Regions from separate parts of the Homo sapiens genome. Here region 2 is linked to region 1. Evidence: promoter capture Hi-C in 16 types of primary human blood cells and fetal thymus (Javierre and others, 2016). All regions are on one chromosome and are shown on one strand. Each heading gives the region's core, a stretch centred on a gene start or on the middle of the fragment in contact. The rest is flanking DNA. Distances are from core to core; before and after follow the strand shown. Region 1 holds the start of ZNF562 (zinc finger protein 562). Region 2 overlaps ZNF266 (zinc finger protein 266).

Region 1 (7,814 bases), core at 3,652-6,151:
GATGGGGCGGCGGGGCAGAGGCGCTCCCCACATCTCAGACGATGGGCGGCCGGGCAGAGATGCTCCTCACTTCCTAGATGGGATGGCGGCCAGGAAGAGGCGCTCCTCACTTCCTAGATGGGATGGCGGCCGGGCAGAGATGCTCCTCACTTTCCAGACTGGGCAGCCAGGCAGAGGGGCTCCTCACATCCCAGATGATGGGCGGCCAGGCAAAGACGCTCCTCACTTCCCAGACGGGGTGGCGGCCGGGCAGAGGCTGCACTCTCGGCACTTTGGGAGGCCAAGGCAGGCTGCTGGGAGGTGGAGGTTGTAGCGAGCTGAGATCACGCCACTGCACTCCAGCCTGGGCACCATTGAGCACTGAGTGAACGAGGCTCCGTCTGCAATCCCGGCACCTCGGGAGGCCGAGGCTGGCGGATCACTCACGGTTAGGAGCTGGAGACCAGCCTGGCCAACACAGCGAAACCCCGTCTCCACCAAAAAAATATGAAAACCAGTCAGGCGTGGCGGCGCGCGCCTGCAATCACAGGCACTCGGCAGGCTGAGGCAGGAGAATCAGGCAGGGAGGTTGCAGTGAGCCGAGATAGCAGCAGTACAGTCCAGCTTCGGCTCGGCATCAGAGGGAGACCATGGAAAGAGCGGGAGAGGGAGACCGTGGGGAGAGGGAGAGGGAGAGGGAGGACACCCAGCTATTTTTGTATTTTTAGTAGAGATGGGGGTTTCTCCATGTTGGTTAGGCTGGTCTTGAACTCCCGACCTCAGGTGATTCACCCACCTCGGCCTCTCAAAGTACTGGGATTACAGGCGTGAGCCACCAGCCGAGCCTATTTTTTGTATTTTTAGTAGAGACGGAGTTTCACCATGTTGGCCAGGCTGGTTTCCAACTCCTGAACTCAAGTGATCCTCCTGCCTTGACCTACCAAAGTGCTAGGATTACAGGCATGAGCCACCACGCCCAGCAAAATACCACATTTATGAACCAAATTTCTACATGTTCTTGGGTCTATTTATAGATATTTTATTAGTCTGTTTCTGCTTCATGCACTAGTACCACATAGTTTTAATTATAGAGGCTTTATAGAATGTTTTCTTATTTTTATTTTAAAATAATTCTTTGTCTTGCGTGAAAATTGTCAATAGTATGTTTTAATATCTGCTGCTCATCATTGCTTTTGTTTTTGTTTTCCTTTTTTTTTTTTTGACACAGTCTCCCTCTGTCCCAGGCTGGGGTGCAATGGTGCGATCTCAGCTCACTGCAACCTCCGCCTCCCGTGTTCAAGCAATTCTCCTGCCTCAGCCTCCCAAGTAGTTGGGACTACAAGCACGTGCCACCATGCCCAGCTAATTTTTGCATTTTTAGTAGAGACACGGTTTCACCATGTTGGCCAGGATGGTCTTGATCTCCTGACCTTGTGATCTGCCTGTCTCAGCCTCCCAAAGTGCTGGGATAACAGGCATGAGCCACAGTGCCCGGCCTTGTTTTTGTTTTCTTGCTTATTATCAGATTTTCTTTTTCCATATAAACTTTTAGCATCAATGTACCTAACTCCAGAAAAAATTTTGGTGTTTTTATTGGGATTATGTTACATTTCTGAATAAACTTGGGGAGAATGTCTGGTATTACTGCTATTTTACAACATAGGAAATGCGGTCCTGGCCCATGTGGTAAGATCAGAAAAATAACAATAGAAATACATATTTTTGGTCAGGCTTAGTGGCTCACACCTGTAATCCCAGCACGTTGGAAGGCCAAAGTGGGTGGATCATGAGGTCAGGAGTTCAAGACCAGCCAAGCCAATATGGTGAAACGTCTCTACTAAAAATACAAAAATTAGCTGGACATGGTGGCGCAGGCCTGTAGTCCCAGGTACTTGGGAGGCTGAGACAGAAGAATCGCTTGAACCAGGGAGCAGAGGTTGCAGTGAGCCAAGATTGTGCCAATGCACTCCAGCCTGGGCAACAGAGCGAGACTCCATCGCAAAAAATAAAAGAAAAAAGGAATTTTTTAAAAATTTTATTGTTTTTTAAGGAGACAGGGTCTTGCTGTGTTGCCCAGGCTTGTCTCCAACTCCTGGCCTCAAACGATCCTCCCATATTGGCCTCTCAAAGTGTGCTGAGATTACAGGCATGAGGCAACGTGCCCAGCCAGAAATACATACTTGGTGAAGAAAAAAAAAATCAAGATTTATAGAAAGTATTATTATATTGAAAATGTGGCTGTGCGTGGTTGCTCATGCCTATTGTAGGGAAAAGAAAGAGATCAGACTGTTACTTTGTCTATGTAGAAAAGGAAGACATAAGAAACTCCATTTTGATCTGTACCCTAAACAATTGTTTTGCCTTGAGACGCTGTTAATCTGTAACTTTAGCCCCAACCTTGTGCTCACAAAACGTGTTGTATGGAATCAAGGTTTAAGGGATCTAGGGCTGTGCAGGATGTGCCTTCTTAACAATATGTTTACAGGCAGTATGCTGGATGAAAGTCATCACCATTCTCCATTCTCAATTAACCAGGGGCACGATGCACTGCAGAAAGCAGCAGGGACCTCTGCCCAGGAAAGCTGGGTATTGTCCAAAGTTTCTCCCCACTGAGACAGCCTGAGATATGGCCTCATGGGATGGGAAAGACCTGACCGTCCCCCAGCCTGACACCCATGAAGGGTCTGTGCTGAGGAGCATTAGTAAAAGAGGAAGGCCTCTGTCTCCTGAATGCCCCTGGGAACGGAATGTCTTGGTATAAATCCCGAATGTACATTGTTCTCTTCTGAGACAGGAGAACACTGCCCTGTGGCTGGAGGTGAGACATGCTGGTGGCAATGCTGCTCTGCTATTCTTTACTACACTGAGATGTTTGGGTGGAGAGAAGCATAAATCTGGCCTACGTGCACATCCAGGCATAGTACCTTCCCTTGAACTTATCTGTGACACAGATTCTTTGCTCATATGTTTTCTTGCTGACCTTCTCCCCACTATCACCCTGTTCTCCTGCTGCATTCCCCTTGCTGAGATAGTGAAAATAGTAATCAATAAATACTGAAGGAACTCAGAGACTGGTGCCAGTGTGGGTCCTCTGGACGCTGAGCGCCGGTCCCCTGGGCCCACTGTTCTTTCTCTATACTTTGTCTCTGTGTCTTATTTCTTTTCTCAGTCTCTCATCCCACCTGATGAGAAATACCCACAGGTGTGGAGGGGCTGGCCCCCTTCACCTATAATCCCAGCATTCTGCAAGGCTGAGATGGGCAAATCACGAGGTCAGGAGTTTGAGACCAGCCTGGCCAACATGGTGAAATGCCCTCTGTACTGAAAATAGAAAAAATAGCTGGGCATAGTGGCAGCCACCTGTAATCCCAGCTACTCAGGAGGCTGAAGCAGGAGAATCACTTGCACCCAGGAGACGGAGGTTGCAGTGAGCTGAGATTGCACCACTGCACTCCAGCCCGGGCAACAGAGTGAGACTCCAGTCTCAAAAAAAAAAAAAAAAAAAAAAAAAAGTAAAAAGAAAACGCAATGGAAACAGCAGGTTCTATAAAATAAAGAATGAAAAAATAGGCTGGGCGCGGTGGCTCACGCCTGTAATCCCAGCACTTTGGGAGGCCGAGGCGGGTGGATCATGAGGTCAGGAGATGGGGATCATCTTGGCTAACACCGTGAAACCCCGTCTCTACTAAGAATACAAAAAAATTAGCTGGTTGTGGTCGCGGGCGCCTGTAGTCCCAGCTACTTAGGAGGCTAGGCAGGAGAATGGTGTGAACCCAGGAGGCGGAGCTTGCAGTGAGCCGAGATTGCACCACTGCACTCCAGCCTGGGGGACAGAGAGAGACTCCGTCTCAAAAAAAAAAAAAAAAGAAAAAGAAAAAGAAAAAATAAAGGCCTACAGAAAGAATGACTGAATGGAAGAGACAGACCATGCCATCTATCACTGGCAGGTTTAATATGGAAGAATCATGGAAAGGCTCCAGGAACATGAGGAGCGGCATACAAAAAAGCTTGACACACACACACACACACACACACACACACACACACACACATATATATATATTTTTTCTTTTTGAGATGAAGTCACGCTCTTGTCCCCCAGATTGGAGTGCAGTGGCGCAACCTCGGCTCACCGCAACCTCCGCCTCCCGGGTTCAAGCGATTCTCCTGCCTCAGCCTCCTGAGTAGCTGGGATTACAAGCGCCTGCCACCACACCCAGCTATTTTTTTGTATTTTTAGTAGAGACGGGGTTTCAGCATGTTGGCCAGGCTGGTGTCAAACTCCCGACCTCAGGTGATCCGCCCGCCTTGGCTTCCCAAAGTGCAGGGATTACAGGCGTGAACCACTGGCGCTTGGCCTTATATATATATTTTAATAGAGACAGGGTCGAGCCGGGCACAGGCCTGGGCAACAAGAGTGAAACTCTGTCTCAAAAAAAAAAAAAAAAAAAAAAAGAAAAGAAAAAAAAAGACACACGGTCTTGCTATTTCACTCAGGCTGGTCTGGAACTCTTGGACTCAAGCTATCCACCTGCCTTAGCCTCCCAAAGTGCTGGAATTACAGGCGTGAGCCACTGAGCCCGCCCAGGATAAGCTTTGGAGGAGCATCCTCTGGGGTGCGTCCCATCCCCCATCCCCGCCTTTCCAACCCGTCTGGGCACCTGAAACGCGGGCTAGGCCGGGTCCCACCTCTAAACCGCCCCCAAATATGGGCCCCACCCCTCGCCCACGGTTCCGTCCAGAGGTCCGGTTCTAAACTCATCTTTTTCTCTGAACCCGTTTCTGCATCCCGCTCCCTGAGCCAACCCCAGGCACTGTCCGGCACCCACCCAGGAGGAAACTAGAATTTCTTTGTCCTACGTGCCTGAAACTCAAGCCCTGGAGCCCCACCCGGCCGGAGGCTCGGAGCGGAAGTGACGTCAGTGTGCCACCGCCATCTTTACCGGCTGTGGCTCAGCATGGTCAGTGCCGTTTAACCTTTATTGTGGTGGAGTCCACCCCGCTGTGGTGAGTTCTACCTGCTTGGGGGTCCGGGACATACCAGCGGGGCGGCAAAGGAAGGATTGGGCGTGGTCGCCCAGGAGCCTCTCAGATCCGCCTAGTTTCACTCGCTTTTCTAGGGGCTGTCAGTCCTCCTGGTGCGGCCTCTGGCCAGTTCCGAGAGGCCGCACAGTCCGTCTGGCTGCGTCGGGAAGTGTGTTTGTTCCGCCTCCGCCGGGTGTTTTCTTGAGTACTTTCATCCGCTGTGCTCCTCTCTTGAAAAGCTTGGAAAGCAACCTTTGGGAGTTTTTTTCTTTCCGAAAGGAAAAGGATTTCTGCCCTTCTGGTGAGGTTGGCTCTGGCCCCGCATTCTCCCGCGTCTGGAACCTATCTCTTCCGGCATGTTCCTGGTGAGCAACGGCGGAAAAATGGTTTCAAGAGGGCTGTGACTTCCATTTATTTGCTAAAAAATGTCTCATCTGAGAATCTGGCGTTGTCTTGATGTCCTTTACTTTTTTTTTTTTTTTGATTTGGAGTCTTACTCTGTCGCCCACGCTGGAGTGCAGTGGCACGATGTTGGCTCACTGCAACTTTCACCTCCCGGGTTCAAGTGATTGTTAGATATGAGTTTTAAATTTCTTTTTAAAAAATCAATATGTCAGTATGTTTAATTCTTTGCCTTCTACTTTTAAACTTCTCCGTAAAGCAACCTTTTTCGATCACCTGCTCCACCCTGACTCATTCTGATTACCTGCTCCACCCAGACTTATTTCGATTACTTACTCCACCCTGACTCATTTTCCACCCTGACTCATTCCAATTTCCTGCTCTGTTATAACCATTTTCCCCAACAAACCACTCACCCTGTCACTCTCTTTAAATTAGCCAATTGGAATTAGTTTAGCCTGTGGGGTCTAACCCTAGCCATCGGGGAAGGACAAAGCGGCAGGGGCCACTTTCCTCAAGAATAAGAACCCCTTCCCCTCCCTTGTCCTGGTGTGTGCTCACCATTGCTCCATCTGTGAGGGCACACCCTTCTGTAGAAGTAAATTGCCTTGCTGAGAAAAGAAAATGTTATATTTGAGTGCTTTTTTTTTGTGGCATGAAAACTTTATAACATGATTCACCTGCCTCAGCCTCCCGAGTAGCTGGGATTCCAGGCGTGCACCACCACACCTGGCTAATTTTTTATATTTTTGGTAGAGATGGGGTTTCACCATGTTGGCCAGGCTGGTCTCGAACTCCTGACCTCAAGTGATCCACCCGCCACTTATTTTTGACACATTACATTCAGATGGAAAAAACATAGTTGTTTAGGGTGTGCCCGTTTTTGTATGTAAATATGAACGCGTGTAGACTAAGCCTTTAGTTTTTAATTTTTATTTTCTTGCAGGTTATTTTTTTTCTAATTGTTACCAGCTGCAAGCCTTTCTACTTAAAGCCAGGCCAGATGCACTGGCTCACACCTGTAATCACAGCACTTTGGGAGGCAGAGGCAGGCGGATCACCTGAGGTCAGGAGATCCAGACTAGCCTAGCCAACATGGTAAAACCCTGTCTCTACTAAAAATACAAAAATTAGCCGGGCTTGGTGGTGGGCCCCTGTAATCCCAGCTGTTGGAGATAAAAAAATAAAACGCTGGGTGCTGCAAAGTGAAACCAGCACTCAGGCAAAAGTTTTCTCAGCAACGCAATTTATTTCTATAGAAGGGTGAGTCTCGTGGATGGAGTGATGGCGAGAGTACACCAGATAAGGGAGGGGAAGGGGTTTTTATTTCTAACGCTGGGTCCCTACTTCTGTGTCTCTCCCCCGTGGGTTAGGGTCAGACCGCAGAATCTAAACTGACCCTATTGGCTATCTGTGAATATTTTCCCCAAATAAGGAAGGGTAGGGGGATGTGTGAGTCATGATGGTGGGATGTGCAGTTTCAAAGAGTGGAATAGCTGCAGAATGAGTAGCCAAGGGAACAGATGTGAGTTATTGATTAGAGCTGATGGGAAGGTTGTTTACAGTAACTAGAGGCAAGGAGGCATGGAGAACAGGAAAGTTGAGTTTGAGAACAAAGAACAAGGAAGTTTACAGGCTGAACTTTTGAAGAGAAATTCAGAGAAATATATTGTATCTTACACAGCTACTCCGGAGGCTGAGGCAAGAGAATCACTTTAACCCGGGAGGCGGAGGTTGCATTGAGCCGAGATCCCGCCACTGCCCTCCAGCCTGGGTGACAAGAGCGAAACTGTCTAAAAAAAAAAAAAAAAAAAAAAGAAAGGCAATAATACTCAACTATTCTCTTCATCTGAAGTTCTTAGGTCTGTACTTCCCCACAGTGCTTCAAAACAGAGGCCTCCAGGAACCAGGAAGAAAGAATGGAGGCTTTATTACACTGACACTAGAATTATTTACTATTATAATCAGAATAGTATTCTAGTATCAGTGTAATAAAATATCTAGTATCTGTATAATTTATTAAGAGCATGTTTGGACTAAGTGTAGTTTTTACATTTTTTTCTGAAAAATTTGATCCTAAGGAAAACTTGAACATCTAACACACCCAGTCTAGTAGATTTACTTAATTTTTTAGCATTTTATTTCTTTCTCCTCATGTAAATCTTACAGTGAACAATTTGAGTGTAAATTGAGCATAAATTGTACATGTGATGCTTGACCTTTAAATACTTTGTAATGCACCTCCTAAAAATAGGCATTGTCATACTAAAACCACAATACTAGTATTTCACTTAAATTAAAAATAATAATGTCATCTAATGTCTACTTTCCGTAATAACTAAAATTCTCCTCATTGATTCAACGTATGCTCTTGGGTGTTTTTGGATCTAAGATCCATTCAAGATTTT
Region 2 (7,814 bases), core at 3,104-5,603, 260 kb after region 1:
TCTGAGACACAGTTTCACTGTCACCCAGGCTGTAGTGCAGTGGTGCGATCTCGGCTTACTGCAACTTCAGCCTCCCGGGTTCAGGTAATTCTCCTGAGTACTCGTCCTCCCGAGTAGCCGGGACTACAGGTGTGTGCCACGCCTGGTTAATTTTTTGTATTATTAGTGGAGAGAGGGTTTCACCACATTGGCCACGCTGGTCCCAAACTCCTGACTTCAAGTGATCCACCTGCCTTGGCCTCCCAAAGTGCTGGGATTACAGGCATGAGCCACCATGCCCAGGTAGGCCATTTCTTTCTCAGAAGTTAAGAAATCTTCAACTTCTCATACTTTTACGCTTTGTCTACTCATTCTTTTCTGTGATAGGACCCGTTGGTTTCTTCTTTAAAAGTTCCTGTTTTGGGCCAGGTGTGGTGGCTCACGCCTATAATCTCAGCACTTTGGGAGGCTGAGGCGGGCAGATCACATGAGGTCATGAGTTTGAGACCAGCCTGGCCAACATGGTGAAACCCCATCGCTACAAAAATACAACTATTAGCTGGGCGTGGTGGCGCACTCCTGTAGTCCCAGCTACTAGGGAGGCTGAGGCAGGAGAATCGCTTGAACCCAGGGGCCGAAGGTTGCAATGAGCCAAGATCGTGCCGCTGAACTCCAGCTGGGGTGAGAGAGCAAGACTCTGTCTCAAAAAAAAAAAAAAAAAAAAAAAAAAGGCCTGGCACGGTGGCTCACGTCTGTAATCCCAGAACTTTGGGAGGCCGAGGTGGGAGGATCACCTGATGTCAGGAGTTCGAGACCAGCATGGCCAACATGCTGAAACCCTGTCTCTACTAAAAATGCAAAAATTAGCTGGGCTTGGTGGTAGGTGCCTGTAATCCCAGCTACTCGGGAGGCTGAGGCAGGAGAATCGCTTGAACTTGGGAGGCGGAAGTTGCAGTGAGCCGAGATTGTTCTATTGCACTCCAGCCTGAGTGACAAGAGTGAAAGTCTTTCTCAAAAAAAAAAAAAAACAAAAAACAAAAACAAGCTCCTTGTTTTGATGTGTGCTTTTTGTTCTATTCCTCAACTTTCCTTCCATGGTAATATTCTTTGTGTTCACCATCAGTTTATAATTTTCATAGAATCAGTTTGTAGTAAACTATGTAAAATTTTGACGCTATATCCTTATTATTGCCAAATTTTTGATATACAATCTTCAAATCTGTCTTTGTGTTTGTTTTTTGTTACCGTGTTTAATTTGAAAACAAATACAGGGGCCGGGTGTGGTGGCTAATGCCTGTAATCCCAGCACTTTGAGGGGCTGAGGCGTGTGGATCACGAGGTCAGGAGTTTGAGACTAGCTTGGCCAACATGGTGAAATCTCGTCTCTACTAAAAATACAAAAATTAGCTGGGCGTTGTGGCATGTGCCTGTAGTCCCAGCTACTCAGGAGGCTGAGGCAGGAGAATCACTTGAACCTGAGAGGCAGAGGTTGCAGTGAGCTGAGACCACGCCATTGCACTCCAGCCTGGGCAACAGAGTGAGACACCGTCTCAAGAAAAAAAGAAAACAAGTACAAATGATCCCTCTCATTTTCAGCTCCATCTGTCTACCCTGTATGTCTCCAAACCCTTACATTTCTTTTTCTCTTCAGCTTCAGAATGGAAAGTGCAACTTAAAACCAAAGAGTTAGCCCTTCAGCAGGATGTTTTGGGGGAGCCAACCTCCAGTGGGATTCAAATGGTAAGATTAACAAGGATACGTCTTAGTTTTCACATTTAGAGATGATTGGGGATTCCATTATAGAAAATCAGAATAAAGCTGGGAATGGTGGCTCACACCTGTAATCCCAGCACTTTGGGAGGCTGAAGTGGGAGGATCACTTGAGGCCAGGAGTTCTAGACCAGCCTGGTCAACGTAGCAAGATCTTGGCGCTAAAAACTAAATTTAATTACATTAAAAGAAAAAGAAAATTAGCAGAATGAGAGCTCTTTGAGATAAGTAGCATTCCCAAAAGGGATAATGACTCTGGAGAGAGACTCAGAATACGATGACCTGGGGATGCTTGAAATCTAGCTTGACACTTATTGTTGTTTTTTTCTTAGACAGAGTCTTGGTCTGTCACCCAGGCTGGAATGCAGTGGCATGATCTTGGCTCACTGCAACCTCCACCTCCTGGGTTCAAGCGATTCTTGTGCCTCACCCTGCTGAGTAGCTGGGAGTACAGGCACGTGCCACCATGCCCGGCTAGTTTTTGTACTTTTAGTAGAGACAGGGTTTCACCATGTTGGCCAGACTGGTCTTGAACTCTTGACCTGAGGTGATCTGCCCACGTTGGCCTCCCAAAGCACTGGGATTACAGGCGTGAGCCACTGCGCCCAGCCAACACTTAGGTGTTTTAGAGTTCCCCTCAAGTACACATTTGTAACTAGATAGTGAGTTTTTAAGACAATTTCATAAAACTCTACAGACATTTGAGATTAGAGTAGATGGCACAGCCTGGCAGGAGTTTTTTGTCATTCCGCTGGAAAGAAATCAAAAGGGCATTACTTATATGTGTGTAATGAAAATGGTAAACATGATAATAATCATCACAGTGTTCCTCTCTTCAGATGAGTGGAATCTGTTAATCAATCTGAACCGTCCTTTAATCATCATTCATTCCTTTATCAACAGATAGGAAGCCACAACGGAGGGGAGGTCAGTGATGTTAAGCAATGTGGAGATGTCTCCAGTGAACACTCATGCCTTAAGACACATGTGAGAACTCAAAATAGTGAGAACACATTTGAGTGTTATCTGTATGGAGTAGACTTCCTTACTCTGCACAAGAAAACCTCTACTGGAGAGCAACGTTCTGTATTTAGTCAGTGTGGAAAAGCCTTCAGCCTGAACCCAGATGTTGTTTGCCAGAGAACGTGCACAGGAGAGAAAGCTTTTGATTGCAGTGACTCTGGGAAATCCTTCATTAATCATTCACACCTTCAGGGACATTTAAGAACTCACAATGGAGAAAGTCTCCATGAATGGAAGGAATGTGGGAGAGGCTTTATTCACTCCACAGACCTTGCTGTGCGTATACAAACTCACAGGTCAGAAAAACCCTACAAATGTAAGGAATGTGGAAAAGGATTTAGATATTCTGCATACCTTAATATTCACATGGGAACCCACACTGGAGACAATCCCTATGAGTGTAAGGAGTGTGGGAAAGCCTTCACCAGGTCTTGTCAACTTACTCAGCACAGAAAAACTCACACTGGAGAGAAACCTTATAAATGTAAGGATTGTGGGAGAGCCTTCACTGTTTCCTCTTGCTTAAGTCAACATATGAAAATCCATGTGGGTGAGAAGCCTTATGAATGCAAGGAATGTGGGATAGCCTTCACTAGATCTTCTCAACTTACTGAACATTTAAAAACTCACACTGCAAAGGATCCCTTTGAATGTAAGATATGTGGAAAATCCTTTAGAAATTCCTCATGCCTCAGTGATCACTTTCGAATTCACACTGGAATAAAACCCTATAAATGTAAGGATTGTGGGAAAGCCTTCACTCAGAACTCAGACCTTACTAAGCATGCACGAACTCACAGTGGAGAGAGGCCCTATGAATGTAAGGAATGTGGAAAGGCCTTTGCCAGATCCTCTCGCCTTAGTGAACATACAAGAACTCACACTGGAGAGAAGCCTTTTGAATGTGTCAAATGTGGGAAAGCCTTTGCTATTTCTTCAAATCTTAGTGGACATTTGAGAATTCACACTGGAGAGAAGCCCTTTGAGTGCCTGGAATGTGGTAAAGCATTTACGCATTCCTCCAGTCTTAATAATCACATGCGGACCCACAGCGCCAAAAAACCATTCACGTGTATGGAATGTGGCAAAGCTTTTAAGTTTCCCACGTGTGTTAACCTTCACATGCGGATCCACACTGGAGAAAAACCCTACAAATGTAAACAGTGTGGGAAATCCTTCAGTTACTCCAATTCGTTTCAGTTACATGAACGAACTCACACTGGAGAGAAACCCTATGAATGTAAGGAGTGCGGGAAAGCCTTCAGTTCTTCCAGTTCCTTTCGAAATCATGAAAGAAGGCATGCGGATGAGAGACTGTCAGCATAAGGAATGTGGGAAAACCTAAAGGTGTCCCTGTTCTCTCTGAAGACATGAAAACTCACTGGGGAGAAACCCTATGAATGTAAAAATGTGGAAGCAACTTTGTATCTCAGGTCTTAATGAACACATATGAATTCACAGTGGAGAAGACCCTGCATCAGGGAATGTGGAAATGACTTTGCTGAATTCTCAAGCCTTACCAAACACATCAGAAATCTCACTGGAGAGAAACTGTATGAATGTAGAGAATCTGGGAATACCTTTCTGAATCCCACAAACCTTAATGTGTGTATGTGAACTCACATTGGAGAGAAACCCTGCAATTTAAATGGTATGGTCTGGATGATGCCCCACTCCATATTTGTAAGCCCTAAGTCCTAGTTCCTTACACTATAACTGTATTTGGACATAGGGTTTTCAAACAGGTGAGTAACTTCAAATGAGGTTGTTGGGTTCGATCCCTAATCTGACATCACTGGTGTCCCTATAAGGGAAACTGAAGGAAGGATACACATGGAGAAGACTGTGTGGATCCACCAGAAGATGGCCATCTACAAGCCAAGGACAGAGACCTGGAACAGATGCTTTCATTATGGCCTCCAGAGGAAACCAACCCTGTCTCCACCTTGATATTGCACTTCCAGGCTCCAGAACTGTGAGGCAATAAATTTCTCTTGGTTAAATCATTCAGTCTGTTATTTTGTACAGCAACCCTAGGAAACTAATACTGTGAGGAACTTGGGAAAAGCTTTAGATCAAGCTTGTCCAACCCGCAGGCCAGGATGGCTTTGAATGCAGACCAACACAAATTTTTAAGCTTTCTTCAAACATAATAAAATTTTTTTGTGATTATTTTTTCCGTTCATTAGCTATCATTAGTGTTAGTGTAAACACAAAAGCAATCACAGGAGAGACGTTCTATGAATGTAGGACATGTGAAGAAGTCTGTAAGTGCTCATCAGATCTTAATACTCACTTCCAACTCTTGTGGTGATAGGCCCTGTGAAAATCAAAGACCATCAAGAAGAGAAAGTTTCTTTTACTATGAAAGTCATAAATGTGACTTCACCCAACATTTAGTGACTTAGAGTGGACTGAGGCTCCATTATTAGTAATGTGGAGAGATTTCATTAAATGTTTATACCTTACATGAGAAATAAAAATTCACAGTGTAGAGAACACTTCTGCTGTAAGGCACGTGGGAAAGCTTTTACTAATTCCACGAGGCTCATTTTACATATCTAAAATTAGACTGCAAGTGAGCCAAGACCCCTACACTCCATCCTGGGTGACAAAGCAAGACTCTGTCTCAAAAAAAATAAAATAAAATTAGACTGCAAATGTCCTGGGAATGTAGGGGAATGTATGGCAACCTTTAAATATCTCACATGCCATAATGTTAACATGAAATCTCACATTGGAGGAAGAACCTGTGTATCCCAGGGATATGGTGTCACCTTATTTCATTGCTCAAGCCTTAATATCTTTGTGAGAATTCACACTGGGGTAAAACCCTGTGATTATAAAAAGGATGCAGGAAGTACTTCATTTGCTTCTCATATCTTACTGTATCACAGTTCATAGCCATGTGAATGTAAGAAATATGGGAAAGCTGTCAGAATCTCTTCACAACCCAGCAGGAAGTAACTTGCAATGAGACCACACAGTCTGTGAAACATGGAAAGCCCTTTGCTGTTATCTCAGGGATTGCTTAAGTAAGGTTTTGCAGTAGAGAGAAATCCTATTAGTGTAAGAGGTTTTGGAGAGTGGTAGTTCAGCTAAATAATGTTGACTTCTCAGATTGGAAAACTCTGACCAATTGAAAATGTTTTATTACTCTTTTAAAATATCCGTGTTCACCTGGTGCAGTGGCTCAGAGCTGTAATCTCAGCACTTTGAGAGGCTGAGGTGAGTGGATTGCTTGAGCTCAGGAGTTCAAGACCAGCCTGGGTAACCTGGTGAAACCCCGCCTCTACAAAAAAGACAAAACTTAGCTGGGCATGGTGGCTTATGCCTATAGTCCCTGCTACCCAGGAGGCTGAGGCAGGAGAATCATTTTAGCCCAGAAGGAGGTTGCAGTGAGCTGAGATTGTGCCACTGCACTCTAGCCTGGGTGACAGAGTCAGACGCTGTCTCAAAACAAAAAATCCATGTTTCAGAGCAGTTTTAGGTTCACAGCAAAATAGTGTGGAAGGTTCAAAGACATCCTATATTCCTGCGGCCACTACATATGCATAGCTTCCACCATCATCAACATACTCCACCAGAGTAATACATTTGTTAGAATTCATGAACCTGCATTGCCACTTCATTATCACCCAAAGTCCACAGATCATCGGTCCTCCCACTATTCCTCCCTCCCTCTCCCCAGCCCGACAACCACTCATCTTTTTACTGTCTCCATAGTTTCGCCTTTTTCAGAATGTCATAGAGTTGGAATTGTGCAGTACGTAACTTTTCAGATTGGCCCAAAGTGATAACTTCACATCCTTCTTTTCCAGTTCAAATGTTGCCTTTTTCAAAACCACTCATGGCCTGCCCCGCCCTCATCCTGTGCCCATAAAAACCGCAGGCTCCACTAACAGAGTAGAAGAGGGTGGGGGCTTTAGTTCTGTCTCTAGAGCAAAGCCCACAGTTATTGGTTAATGAATGCGTTAAGGCACCCACACCTTCCACCAATGTTGAGCTGTGTTCACCCCATGGTGACTTTTGGGGCAGTGGATTGCAGGGTGGGTCTGGAGTGCCATGTGACTGCTCTGCAGGACTTGGAGACTGGTGAAATTTCTGCACAGGTGGCTTCTGGAGCTCCTGGACAAGGCGCACCTTTCCTCAAGAGCGTGACTCCTTGATGCTTGGAATCTGGGTGAGGACAGGATGAGGACATTTAAAAATACTGTTTAGTGTTAGGTTTTTAACTCATTGTTTAATTCTCTGACACAGCAGCTGAGCTTTTTTTTTTTTTTTTTTTTTTTTTTTTCTTGAGATGGAATTTTGCTCTTGTTGCCCAGGCTGGAGTGCAGTGGAGAGATCTTGGCTCACTGCAACCTCTGCCTCCCGTGTTCAAGTGATTCTCCTGCCTCAGACGCCTCAGTAGCTGGGATTACAGGCACGTGCCACCACGCCCAGCTAATTTTTGTATTTTTAGTAGAGATGGGGTTTTGCCATGTTGGCCAGACTGGTCTTGAACTCCTGACCTCAGATGATCTGCCCCTCTTGGCCTCCCAAAGTGCTGGGATTACAAGCATGAGCCACTGCACCCGGCACTGAGCAATTTTTTAAACCAATATATTCTTTGGTGCAGCATCTAATTTAATACTTATTTTAAAACCTAATCCTTTAAAAATCTTTTATTTGCCAGTTGATAGAGAATGTCTGTTTTAAACACACGTTTCTAATGTATAAATCTAATGTTAGCAATACAATTCCAAACCCTTTACTTATCAGTGGGTATTTTATTTAGCAGAGACTGTATAAAATGCACTGCTAGCCAAACTGCTTTTGAATTTCTTTTGCCCCAGATCTCTGGTTTTTGGAGGCTTCATTAAATAAAACTAATAATCCTCTATTCACTTTTTAAGAATTGTGGTAAAGTATATTACATAAAGTTTACATTTTAACCATTTTAAGTGTCCACTTCGCTGGCATTAAGTATACTCACATTGTTGGGCAACTGTCACCATCATCCCACTAAAAAATGTTTATCTTCCCAAACTGAACCCAGT

The links. The method cuts DNA at HindIII sites, captures the fragments that hold promoters and counts their contacts. A CHiCAGO score of 5 or more calls a contact.
Region 2: a contact is called between a fragment that was not itself captured here and the fragment with the promoter of ZNF562 in region 1, in 1 of 17 cell types (erythroblasts). The highest score is 5.8, in erythroblasts.

The regions. Positions count from the first base shown.
Region 1 is chr19:9,672,187-9,680,000 of GRCh38, reverse strand. ZNF562 (zinc finger protein 562) reads left to right here and starts at 4,901. Exons shown (of 6, transcript NM_001130031.2): 1 at 4,901-4,986. RefSeq lists enhancers at 3,695-4,694, 4,957-5,016, 4,695-5,194, 4,733-5,932. The HindIII fragment of the contact is 670 bases long and covers 4,576-5,245 here.
Region 2 is chr19:9,409,559-9,417,372 of GRCh38, reverse strand. ZNF266 (zinc finger protein 266) reads left to right here. Exons shown (of 11, transcript NM_001370374.1): 10 at 1,631-1,719; 11 at 2,653-4,944. The coding sequence ends at 4,098. Among named protein-coding and RNA genes, the nearest start is that of ZNF266, 22 kb to the left of the region's middle. The HindIII fragment of the contact is 978 bases long and covers 3,865-4,842 here.